2 separate regions of the Homo sapiens genome follow, and region 2 is linked to region 1. The links are contacts of gene promoters, found by promoter capture Hi-C in human tissues and cell types (Jung and others, 2019). All regions are on one chromosome and are shown on one strand. Each heading gives the region's core, a stretch centred on a gene start or on the middle of the fragment in contact. The rest is flanking DNA. Distances are from core to core; before and after follow the strand shown. Region 1 holds the start of TRAM1 (translocation associated membrane protein 1). Region 2 overlaps MSC-AS1 (MSC antisense RNA 1).

The links. The method cuts DNA at HindIII sites, captures the fragments that hold promoters and counts their contacts. A contact is called where the count stands out against the background at its distance.
Region 2: a fragment that was not itself captured here is called in contact with the fragment with the promoter of TRAM1 in region 1 in 1 of the 25 tissues and cell types used here (lymphoblastoid cells).

Annotation. Positions count from the first base shown.
Region 1 is chr8:70,605,597-70,612,155 of GRCh38, forward strand. TRAM1 (translocation associated membrane protein 1) reads right to left here and starts at 2,820. Exons shown (of 11, transcript NM_014294.6): 1 at 2,481-2,820. The coding sequence starts at 2,603. LACTB2-AS1 (LACTB2 antisense RNA 1) reads left to right here and starts at 2,981. Exons shown (of 4, transcript NR_038881.1): 1 at 2,981-3,237. RefSeq lists silencers at 1,867-2,316, 2,337-2,516, 2,567-2,626, 2,687-2,736, 2,817-2,986. The HindIII fragment of the contact is 5,998 bases long and covers 170-6,167 here.
Region 2 is chr8:72,011,056-72,017,614 of GRCh38, forward strand. The region is part of intron 4 of MSC-AS1 (MSC antisense RNA 1); the gene reads left to right. Among named protein-coding and RNA genes, the nearest start is that of TRPA1, 61 kb to the right of the region's middle. The HindIII fragment of the contact is 5,950 bases long and covers 939-6,559 here.

The DNA.
Region 1 (6,559 bases), core at 1,570-4,069:
ACTTTGAGATTCAGCAGCAATTGTTTTAAAAGTCGAATAGCAAAACTAACCTAGTCTACAAAGTCCTATATATAGATAACATGCTTTGAAATCCTAACACCTTAATATATGGTAAGAAAAAGGAAGAACTCGCACAAACTTCACTTTTGTGTATCACTTTAACACTCACTTTTGAATTGACTTAAAAACCTCTATTTAGTATTTTTGTCTATTTAGATTTTCAAATTTTATAAATTTATATAAAGGTGAAAATCCACTGTTTAAAAAAATCACTAACATGTGAGGCAAGGTATAGGTGGTGGACTTCCCTAGAAATATAGTAAGAGAATGTAAAATAGTTTATATAAAATCAAAGTTATACTATGTGTCAGAATTTCTGATTTATATTTCATTTCATTCAAAGCACTGCAAATATACCTTGCAGGTCACAGTACCCCTAAAATATGTTTTTAAAGTCAGGAATTCTTACCATGTGGAGATGGTTTATGACAAGTTACAGAAAATTGAATATACTACATATATTAAAGTACTACTTTAAGGTCAAAGCAGAAAGTACATGCAAGTATCAAATTCAGAAAGTGAATACAAATGTTTAACATTGGGTTTTTTTTGAGACAGGGTCTTCTTGCTCTGTCCTTCAGGCTGGAGTGCAGTGGTGAAACCTTGGCTCACCGCAGCCTCCACCTCCTGGGCTCAAGTAATTATCCCACCTCAGCCGCCCAGCTGAGACCACAGGTGCGTGCTATCTATCACTCCTGGCTAATTTTTAAAAAATCATTTGTAGAGACAGGGTCTCCCTATGTTGCCTAGGCTGGTCTCGAACTCCTGGGCTCCAGTGATTCTCCTGCCTTGGCCTCCCAAAGTGTTGGGATGTTTACAGGCATAAGCCAGAGCACCAGGCCTAGCACTGTATTTACCTTCACACCATATCATCTGATACTTGCAAAAAATGGCTGTGAGGAGAACAGTACAGGTGATATTATTTCCTGATAAAGAGCAGAAAAATTGAGGCTCAGACTTGGGTCACCCAGTAGGTAGGTGGCACAGCCCAGACTTAAAGCTTGAGAATGTTAGTTTCCTTCTACCTACCCTTTAACTATACCTGCTACCTCCTTAGCAGTGGTTTCAAACATGCATGACACAATCAGGAGTAAATAATATCTGTATCTAGATCCAGAAAAGCCCATTTGATGAGAGGCGAAAATAAGGTTAAAATATTATTTAATTTTAAAATTAAAAAAAAAAACAAATATGCTCCATTAAAAAGAAAATGTATTCACCTTTTGGTCACTGGTAATATCATTCCATTAGGTTTTCTCAAGGATTCTTAACGTCGCTCATCTTTTTTTAAGCACTCCTATGTCCCAGGCACTATCCTAGACTCTGGAAATACAGACTCGTAAAAATACTCCAAAATCTCTACTCTCACTTGTTACATGCAGGAGAGAGGAGACAAAACAAGGCAGGAGCAAAATAATTTGTATATTTACTGAGACATAAAGGCTCCAGAGAAAAATTAAAAAGGGAAAAAAGCAAAGGAATGAGCGTGTGTATTGGGGAGCGAGGGGAAAAACGTAGGATGTTACTCGTTCACCTTGCAAAGTTTATCATCCACATTCAACAGCTGTTAAATAAGTCATCAAAATACTAGATACGTGGGAAGAGAATTTACACACTCCTGACATTCCCATCCTCTCCTACTTCAAGAAACAAAATTACTCGATTCCTTGGCACCGCTGTTCAGAACCTCGATTTATCCATCAGACCTTGTTTCTTTAAAGCGTCAGGGCAAAAAGTTCGTTAACTGGTAATAATATCAGTTTAAAAGACAAAAATGAAAACAATCTGGCGCGCCTCCACTGCGCCGGTGCCCGGCGGCCACCGCCCTTCAAGTCGAAAGCAGATGCCTGACTCCGGTTTCTCGCTCACCCCAATCTCGGAGCTACCGGGGGCTCCCCTGTCACTCGGGGCCTGTGGTCTCCAGGCCGGCACTCCTCAGACCCGGGGGCCGGGCCTCGGCCTTCCCCGGCCCTCGCGGGGCTGACGCTCACCGCGGCCGAGGCTGGCAGTCCCCCCAAGTCCGCCCACCCGCCCCGAGCCAGCTCGGCAGCGCAGGGGCCGCCCCCGCCCGCAGGCCCCTCGCCGGCTGCCACGTAACCCTTCGCGGGAACCAGGAACTGCGCCGCGCAGCCTGCGGGAGGGGGCGGCGGCGGGTCAGGAAGGGGGCGACGCGGCGGTCCCCACCCCCTGCGGGCCGCGATGAGGCCCACCGGGACTTTGCATCTCCGGGCCGGCCGCCGGGGAGCTGCCGCCGACGTGGGGCAGGGCAGGGAAGGCCTGCACCTCAGGGACTGGGGGTCTGCACCCACCCCGGGCCCGAGCCCCCCGCGTCCTGGGCGGAGAAGCCGGGGCTGGCATCTGGAGCCCGGGCCCGGGCTGGAGGTGGCGGGGCAGGCGGTTGGGACTCGGGGCGGGCTCACCTCAAACATGAGCCCCAGCAGGAAGACCATCGCCACACAGGAGACGATGTCCGCGTGATTCTGCAGGACGAATTCGTGGCTCAGCACTGGGGGGCTCTTGGTGCTTTTCTTGCGAATCGCCATGGTGGGGCCGCCGCCCGCGCCTGCAGGTGCTCCGCCCCGGTTCTGCTCTTCCCAGCTGCTCACCGACTCGCCGCCGCCTCCCGCTGGCTGCTCCTCACGGCCCCGCTGCAGCCGCTCGCTGGGGCTTCACTTCCCATCCCACAGCCAGTACGCAGCCGCCGGGCCGCCCGGGGGAAAAAAAAAAACACAACAGCTAGCCCGCAGCGGGGGCGAGCATGCGCACCAGGGAGACGACGCTCCCTGGTGCCGCGGCCGCCTCCGCGAGCCCACAGCGCCACCTGGGGACCGGAGGCCGCTGGCCCGCGGCCGGGCGAGCGTGCAGGAATGTGAGCGGCGCTTCCCTGCTTCGCGCCGGGCCCGGGTTTGGGAGTCGTTTGAGGCGCGAGCTTCCTGCGCCTGCTCAGCAGCCTGAGGCCGCGGCCGGGTGCCCTCCTGCCCTCCTGGCCATCCAGGGATTGGGTGTCAGTGGCCTGTTGCACATTGTCACTTCTACAAGTGACTAACACCGTCAGGATAATCTAAAACTACGAATACTACCTGACTCCACAAGGGTACGGTGTATTCTCCAGTTTTAGCATCTGCCTTAAAAATTACCTCAGAGTTAAGCACTGCTGGGGACTTATTTCTACTCTTGGTAAGTTTGGACTAACTTAAAAAAAAAAAAAGAGCTGACCCTATTCTGGTCTGCCTCTCCGTCCCCACCCCCATCCCCGTCCCCATCCCCACCCCTATCCCCCACTGGCCTCAGACTGAAGACGAAGGGATCAGTTTGGGTTTACTGGCTTCACATATATTCAAATTAACAACATGTTTTAGTAATCTAAGGGAAATAGTAAAAGAGTTAAAAAGGATCGTGGATTAAGACACGTCCTCCTCTTATCGTTTTGCCCAAACCTGGAGTCCTTTGTATTCTTTTTCCTGAAGAATTGCTCTCCTGTTTACCCATAAGCCAAATGTAGAAACCAAAGTCATGCTAGATTGAGCCCTTTCAGCGCCCTTCCACATCCAGTCATCACCAATTCGAGGCAGACCTATCACCCCGCTTCCCCACTACCGCAGTCCGAGGGTACTTGCCTCTTGCCTACAATATTACAACTCTGGTGTAACCACTTAGTGGTTTAAGAATGTGGGTTGTTAAATCAGAATTCTGCCACTTATTACTTGTACGATCAAGGACAAGTTACTTAATCTCTATGGGACCCGATTTCCTCATTTTTAAAAATGTATTCATTTATGTACTTACTGAGGGTTGACTGTGTCCTGGGCACTGGGGATACAGAACTGAAATACAAATTAAATTATTCCTAGGGACTTATCATTCTAGTGTGGGAGAGAATCTTTAAACAAGATTTCAAAAGCGAAACAGATGTTAAATTGAGTTGAGCAACCAGGAGAAAAATAAAGCAAGGGGAATAGGAAAGTGCGAGGCACTTATACTTGCCTGAAGACCTGCAGGAGGTGAGGGAGCAAGCCCTGTGGATATCATCTATAAAGTGGGGATAACTATTGCTCATTTTAGTGATTAAATGAGATGATTGAAGGAAACTGCTTAGCGGGGAGTAAGGGCTTTATAAATTTAGTCAGGGATTATTCTTTTCCTCCTTCTGGGCAATCACTAGTTTCATTTCCCTTCAGATCACCTTTCAACGTTTATACTAGAATGATGCTTCTACTGGCAGAAAGTTTTTCAGCGGGTTCCCTTTCCCTTCATGGAAAGCTAGCATGATGAAATAGCCCTTTCTGATTTGGTCCTTGCCTACCCCAACAGACTGGAGCCCTGCATCTACAGGCCATAATCTCTGTACCAGCATTATTGACTACACACACTATACAGTTGCCTCTCCATATCTGTGGGTGCCGCATACACTGTGGATTCAACCAACCTGGAGTAAAAGATATTCAAGAAAAAAACTGCATTTGTACTGAACATCTACAGACTACCCCCCCATGATTATTCCCTAAATAATATAGTACAGCCAACTATTTATTTAGCAGTTATGTTGTGTTATTATAAGTAATCTAGAAATGATTGGAGGTCTGTGGGAGGATTTAGGATATTCTTTACCAGAATATTGCATCATCTTATATAAGGCACCTGAGCATGGGTGGATTTCGGTATCCGCGGGGGCCCTGGAACCAGTCCCCTGTGAAGACTGAGGGACGACTGTACATGCCATGACATGCTCTCTTCCCATGCTCTCCCCTGCCTTTGCGTGTACTGCTGTCTCTGTCTGGAATGTTTTCTCCTGTCCTTTCATAGACACAGCAGGCTCCTGCTGTTCCTTCATGTCTCATTTACACATGACCTCTTCGAAAGCTTCACTGAATTCTGTGACCTAAGCAATTTATCTTTTATGATTCAATTGCATTTTTGAAATAGTTTTATTGCAGTATAATTTATGTCATATAGTTCAGCTATTTGAGATATTCAATTCTGTGGTTTTTAGTATGTTTGCAAAGTTGTGCAACAATCACCATAATATAACTTTAGAACATTCTTGTAATCTCTAAAAGAAACCTTATACACATTACCAGTAACTCTCCATTTCCCCTCATAGTCTTGGCAGCCCTTGGCAACAACTGACCTATTTTCTACCTCTCTATATTTGCTTATTGTGGACATTTCTTTTTGTTCTTTCTTTGTTTCTTTTCTTTCTTTTTTTGAGATGGGGTCTTGCTCTGTTGCCTAGGCTGGTGTACAGTGGCATGATCATAGCTCACTGCAACCTTGGACTCCTGGCCTCAAGAAATTCTCCCACCTCCCAAAGTGCTGGGATTACAGGTGTGAACCACCATGGCCAGCTTGGACATTACATGTAAATAGAATCATGATCTTTTGTGACTGACTTCTTTCACTGAAGATAATGTTTCCAAGGTTCATCGATGTTGTAACATGTATCAGTACTTCACTCCTTTTTATGGCCAAATAATATTCCATTGTATGGCTATAGCACATCTTATTCATCAGTTGATGAACATTTGTGTACAAGTTTTTGTTTGAACTCAATTCCTTTGGGTATATACCTAGCAGTGGAATTGCTGATCATAAGGCAACTTTATGTTTGACGTTTTGAGGAACTCTCACACTAATTTCCAAAGTGAATGCACTATTTCCCATCCTATTAGCAATGTGTAGAGGTTCCAATTTCTTCCCATCCTTGCCAATACTTTTATTTTCTGTCTTTTAATCTTATCTGTCCTAGTGGGTGTGAAGTAATATCTCATTGTGATTTTGCTTTGCATTTCCCTGAGCACTAATGATATTGACTACTAGCCTTATCAGGTGCTCAGAAGCCATCTGTATATCTTTTTTTGTAGAAATGTCTATTCAAATCCTTTATCATTTCTAAGTTGGATTAATTTTTTAAAGTTTATTGAGTTGTAAGGGTTTAAAAATATCTATTCTATATGTCCATGTTGTTCTGTAATTTATTTTAAAAAATAAAAGATAGATTCTAGATCTTAGCAGATATATGATTTGAAAATATTTTCTTTCAGTCTGTCTTTTTACTTTCTTGATGGTTTTCTTTGAAGCACAAAAGTTTTTAATTCAGCAAAGTCCAACTTACCTGTTTTCTCTTTAATCACTTGCTATTGTTGTCCTATATAAGAAATCAGTGCCTAACCCAAGATTCCAAAGATTTACTCCTGTGTTTTCTTCTAAGAGTTTTATGGTTTTAGCTCTTACACTTGGGTCTATGAGGACTCACTTGTATTTTGTACATAATTTCATTTTAGCAATAATCATACTATCTTCTATTGTTTGCAAGTCTGTCTTCCCACTAGACTGGTACTCCTCAGGAACTGGGAGTTGTTTCATTTTTCCAGCTCCTACTACCTGGTGCTATACTGTCAAATATTTAGTGGTCATTATTTATTGAGGGAATGAAAAGAAAAAATACCTCACATAAATGAGAATAAAACCTTAAGATAGTTTAACCAAGAAACAAACATAA
Region 2 (6,559 bases), core at 2,664-5,163, 1.4 Mb after region 1:
AAGGCCTTCTTCTAGTTAAATAAATCATTTTGAATTAAAATAACACTGATGGGACTCTTAGCAATGTTTTACCTCTTGGGAATCACTGCCTACATTTGTGGTCTATAAATCTGAATCCTTAATTCACTCGGATTGATTTTTGGCTCCGTGAAAGCAGGAGCTTTTCTCACTGCTGTAGCCCCCACACATGGCACAGGCCTGGGACAGAGTAAGCACTCATAAGTATTTGTTAAGTGAAAAAATAAATGAATGAAAGTATCCCAAACACTTGCATTTTCAAAAGGTTTTGACATCCACTTCCTTTTCTTCTCAAAGCTACGCTTTGAGATGGATAGGTCCTATTTTACCTCTATTGCATCGATGAAGAAACTGCAATGCAAAGAAGTGTCTAATTAGTCATTTGCTTCCTTTCATCAAATATGTCCATTACACCAGTGTTTCTCAAAATGTGTTCCATAGATCATAAATCCTGAAGGATGTTAATAGTTATTATGTGCCAGGGGACCCGTGGATATATAAGTTTGGAAAATAGTGAAGTAAAAAAAAAAAAAATTGGTTTACTTACTACAAGTTTTCTCAGAGCCTTATTAAGCCAATGTGCATTGTGAACACAGGAGGTAGTGGAGATAGTTAAAGTATGCAGCATTTTCTATTTTTGACTATAGTTTGCTTGATTGATTTTTTTTTTTTTTTTTTAGACAGAATCTTGCTCTGTTGCCCAGGCTGGAGTGCAGTGGTCTGATCTCAGCTCACTGCAAGCTCCGCCTCCCGGGTTGACGCCATTCTCCTGCCTCGGCCTCCTGAGTAGCTGGGACTACAGTTGCCTGCTACCACGCCCGGCTAATTTTTTGTATTTTTAGTAGAGATGAGGTTTCACCGTGTTAGCCAGGATGGTCTCGATCTCCTGATCTTGTGATCCGCCCGCCTCAGCCTCCCAAAGTGCTGGGATTACAGGCGTGAGCCACTGCGCCGGCCACTTGATTGATTTTAAATGAAGCATCCAGCAGTGTTAGTGTGAAACTTCATTAGGTAGTACTTTTCAGACCTTAACTTGCATATGAATTGCCAAGGGAACTTACTAAAATGCAAATTCTGATTTAGGAGGGAAGAGTGCCTAGGGCAGGGACCTGAGATCCTACATTTCATCTTCTTTTTTCTTCTTTTATTTGAAACAAGGTCTCACTCTGTCATCCAGGCTGAGGTTCAGTGGCATGATCACAGCTCACTGGATCCTCAAACTCCGTGGATCAGATGATCATCCCACCTCAACCTCCCAGGTAGCTGGGACTACAGGTGCATGCCACCACACCTAGCTAATTTTTTAATTTTTTTGTGGAGACGGGGTCTTGCTTTGTTGCCCAGTCTGATCTTGAACTCCTCAACTCAAGGCAATCCACCTGCTTCGGCCTCCCAAAGCTCTGGGATTACAGGCGTGAACCACCATGACTGGCCAGAGATCTTGTATGTCTAACAGGCTCTCAGAGGGTGCCCATGCTGCTGGCCCACAGGCCACACCTTGAATAGCAAGGCACTAGAACATACAAGAGTCAAGAAGAAATGGCATCTTATTGAAAGACCAAATGAGAACACTAAAACACCCTATTGACCCTCAGGACCAGCTGTTAAAGAAGCATGTTGTTCAGAGGGGTGAGGAAATAAGGGACAAACCCCCATATGATGAGCAAGTAATGAAGGAACATAGAGCTAAACTAAATAGCTGGAGTAGGGCAGGTCTTTTCAGCTGAAGTCTAGGTGGTGAATTAATTAGTGAAGGGACACAGAGATGGCTAAAGGGACCCTTGATTGCTTTGTGGACCAAAATAGCTTCATTTTTGTCATTAAAACCTAGGTTCAAGGAGAAGAGGGCAAGGCCCACTATTGGTTCAGACTTAGTTATTGTTTTCCTTCTCTATCCACAAACTCAAGTTCCATGAGTTACTAATTTTTTAAAAAACTTTTTAATTATTCAAAATGGAATATGAATGTTAGAAATTGGAAGGGAAAAATGGGGACTGACATAAAAAGAGGTTAACCTGGGTCAGGTGAGGAAGTAACGCTATACAATGTATTCAGCTATTTAAAGGCTTCAGAAATGCTCGTATCTTTTACAGACTGATCTTCCTGACTTCATCTGGTCCCTGCTTTGACCTGGAAACTTAGCTTGGGTACCTGTGTTTCTCCAGCAGTGGCTGTTCTCTGCTGGTGCCTTGTCCTAGCAGACTCTTCTCTCCTAGTTCCTTGGCAACAGTGTTCTAATAACCTTTGCGGGTCACACAGTTCCTAAGTGTGGAGCTGGGATTAGGCTAATGGAGGTGTTATAAGACTCTCCAACAATATATTCATCAATGATTCACTTCTACTAATTATAACTCGACATATTTTGGTAACTTATTGAAAGCAAAAAGGTTAATAACTCATGACTTCCTTGTAGGTCAAATCTTTGTCCGTGTAAAGCAATAATTTTGCCTAATTTTATATTTTTTCCCTTGCATTCTTTGGGTTAAGTTCATTTTGTCACTCCTGCTCTTTATATTTGTATATTTATTTGTTCATCTTTCTATAATACTAGTTTAGATTATTCTCTAGCGATTACATTTTTTTAACCCAGAAAGGAAGTATTGTGTTTTTTACTGAAGTTTAGATTGGTTGTCAGAACTCATAGATTTTATTTTACTTGTGTAGTCTTGTTCATGTTTTTGCATTTTTGTAGGTCTTGATGTTTTCTTTTACTTAATTTTTTAAGCTTTTCTTATATTGCCTGTTTTGTTTCTTTTTATCTTTTTTCCCATGTACTAATACATACTTATTTTGTTTAAATTATATTCTTGATTTCTGAACAATTAAAAAAAGAAATTATCCACCCTATATTTTTTAGTTACAAGTATGTTATGAAGCAGTATCTTTAATTTGAATAGAATTGAGTCCTTGCTAAGAAAAATGAATGAGATAAGGTATTTCATCTTCTGTTCACCACTCGTACCTGTGAAAGCCAAACAGCCTGACTTTTTATAGCTGTCAGTGATCAATACTGAAGATATAATCTGTCATTACAAAGCAGCTGGCTTGGGCTTTGAAATGTAAACAGTGATAATTTATGAACGGGTTAGTCATTTTCCCATAAACATCTGCCCATGTACCCTGTGTTGTAATACATTCATGCTATTGCGTTCCTTGTCTGTTGTAACATTCGTTGATTAGTAAATATTTATAGATGTCTCTTGTAACAAAGTTTGGCTTTGGGCATGATCAGTTAAAAATAAATTTTAAAATATCATAAAACAACTATGTAGTGCCCAAGAAGACCTTAGAAAATATTCTTTTCTTCATGTTTCTGCCCTGTGTTGTATTGGTCTTGTCTTATCTGGTAGAATTGTCATACATGTCAAATGGGGAGCCTCATTATGATGAAAAATGAAACAAAGGGTGCTTTTTTTCCATTACCCTATACCCTGAAATAGCCAAAATATACACATATGGCACCAGAAGAACAGGGAGTTTGCCTTTTTCTAGCTTGTTTTAAAAGTGCAGTGCAGACAAGCTAAATCCAGCTGGGAATTCTGTGGGTCACACGCATTAGGCGGTGCAGAATTGAAACCTCTGTCTAGAGCAGACTCTCAGAAGATTTACATGCAAGGTTAAGCTAGCATATTTTTGTTTGTGTTGCCTTAAATCTTCTCCTTTGAAGGTTATGATAGCTGCTCAGTGACTAAGTGGTTATTTTTTTAAATCAGTGATACATTCGTTGTTTAGAAGGTATCTAATACTTCTTGTCTTAATAAAAATGTTAATAACAGATGAAACTCTGTATATTAGCATATCTCAAGTGTATAATCCTAGTTTGCTATTTACCCATCTGATTTGTGTAACATTATACTGTCATTTAAAATATACTTTTAAAGCCAGATTTTACATTTCAAGTTATCTTTAGTAATAACTCTCAGTACACTCACTTGTAAATAGTTGCTATAAACTATTCACTTGTAAATAGTTGCTTTTCAGACTGTAAAAATATATTTACTCATCCCTGTAAGCTTAAATTTTGCAGCTAATTACTATTTTCTGATACTTTATGTATATATACATATATTTTTTCTTGAAAATTATTTCCAAAAATAATTATTTAAATGCAAATCATAACAATAAATGAAAACATTTAAAACACGTACTTATTTTTGTAATTGCCATTCTAAATAATTTAATCAAAATACCCCCATTCTGATTTCTTTCCCATTCATCTTTTCCAAGAAGTTAAGAACCTGAATTTTAAAAAACACTGTACCCAAGCAGCAAAACTGTGCCAAACTTGAAAGGCCGACCCCACCTTTTGGCTCTATTGACCCTAATACTTTTCCAATTAAAGAAAAACTTAACAAAAAATAGAATGCAATGACTACTTTAAGCCACTTGGCACTTTGGGGCTTTATTCTGTTTTCAAACTGGCATATGATAATTGAATTTTCTTGGGGAAAACTCAAAGCAGCAATCCAGCTTTTTCGAGATACTCCACTTGATGAATCTCCACTCCCAAAGAACATCAGTGAAGCCCTCGTGGTATTATCTTTGTTAACAAAGAGTCACCACATTTTGATGATTCTCATTCTAAGTGCTAAGACTTAAAATGGCAATATAAAACATAGCTCAAAATGTTTTAGTAGAACTTAGCTTTATCTCTTGTTGACTTTTCTTTACAGTTAAAAAATATAGAAACCACTTTAAAAGCATGCAAAAAAAAGCATGTCCCATAAGCAATTTACTTCATATTGTGAAATTAACATGTTCCATATTTCAAAGGTTTGACAAAGCTCTGTGCGTTGTCATTGACTAATTGATGGAAACTTTCAAAATCTCTGATCCTCTGGCTGGTTATTTACTGACAGTGTCCTTTATGGGCTTGTGTCTTCTGCATTTCAAGGACTCATGTGGCAGCATAGAAACAAAGGATGTTAAAAGGTACAGTCAGATCCTGCACACTGGGTGTTAAGTTTACAGTAATTTGGATGAGTGAAGGGCCATTTCATTATCTTATCAACTGAGAAGGAATGGCAGAGCTGACCACTAGACTGGGATGCTATAGAGGTTTTAGGGGCACAACTTGGTTTTATACTTGGGAATGAGACAGGAGTTCAGCAGGACTTGTTTCACAAGATACGAATCACAAAGACCTTGCTGGTAAAACAGGATGCAATAAAGAAGCCAGCCAAAATCTGCCAAAACCAAGATGGCAACAAAAGTGACTTCTGGTCATCCTCACTGCTCATTATATGCTAATTATAATACATTAGCATACTAAAGGAAGAGCCCACTGGTGTCACAACAGTTTACAAATGCCATGGTAACATCTGGAAGTTAACCTATATGGTCTTTCAGTGGGAGGAGCCCTCAGTTCTGGGAATCCCCTGCTCCTTTCTCAGGAAACTCATGAATAATCCACCCCTTATTTATCATATGATCAAGAAATAACCATAAAAATAGCCAATCAGCAGCCCTTAGGGCTGCACTGCCTATAGAGTAACCACTCTTTTATTCCTTTACTTTTTAATAAACTTGCTTTCACTTTACTCTATTGGCTTGCTCTTGAATTTTTTCCTGCAGAAAGCCAAAAACCCACGTGGCCTCCTGGGGTGAGTCCCACTTTCAGCATTTGCCCTGCGACAAGTAAAAAGACTATTTGATTTAATAAATCCTCCATCTTATTTAAATTTGGGTGATTTTAGCATATTTATAATTGGGAAAGTTTTCAAAGTGATACAGGATGGTGATAAATGCACACATGTTTACAATTCAGTATTACAGCTCTCCAAGAGTTTTCTGGTTTCTTTTACCACACTCAGAATTTGAAAGGCAACCATCTGGGTCATGAAGATGCTTGCTGATCAACTGCTGGGGTAGAAGAGACTGCTGCAGTAGAAGAGACTTTAAGTCCCTTGCTGAAGACTGCAGTCTGGCTTACTGGTTTTAGTTATTTGCACTACCTAACCTGTATCTCAAGGACTGTGGACACCATACAACATCACAGAAAACTTGATGCTTGGAGGTTTATCGGATTATGAAAGATGTTGTGTCTGCCTGTGGTATCCTGAAAGTACAGATACCTGCAGTCTTGAACCTCAACTTCTGGATTATTTCGATTATGAATTCTTTAGACAGTTTTTTTTCTTTTTCTTTTTTATTTTTGAGACAGGGACTTGCTCTGTTGTCCAGGCTGGAGTGCAGTGGTGCAATAACGGCTCACTGAAGCCTTGACCCCGCTGAGTTCAAGTGATCCTCCTATTTCAGCCTGTTGAGTAGCTGGGACTACAGGTGCCTGCCACCATGACAGGCTATTTTTAAAATTTTTGTAGATATGGGGTCTCACTGTATTGCCCAGACTGGTCTCGAACCCCAGGACTCAAGCAATCCTCCCACCGTGGTCTCCCAAAGTGTTGGGATCATAGACATGAGCCACTTCCCCTGGCCTTAGACAGTTTTGGTTCCTTCAGAATTAATGATCTGCATCTGCAAGGCATATGGATCTCCACTGATTTACAGGGGGTTTGCCATTACTGAGTTGACTTGTAGA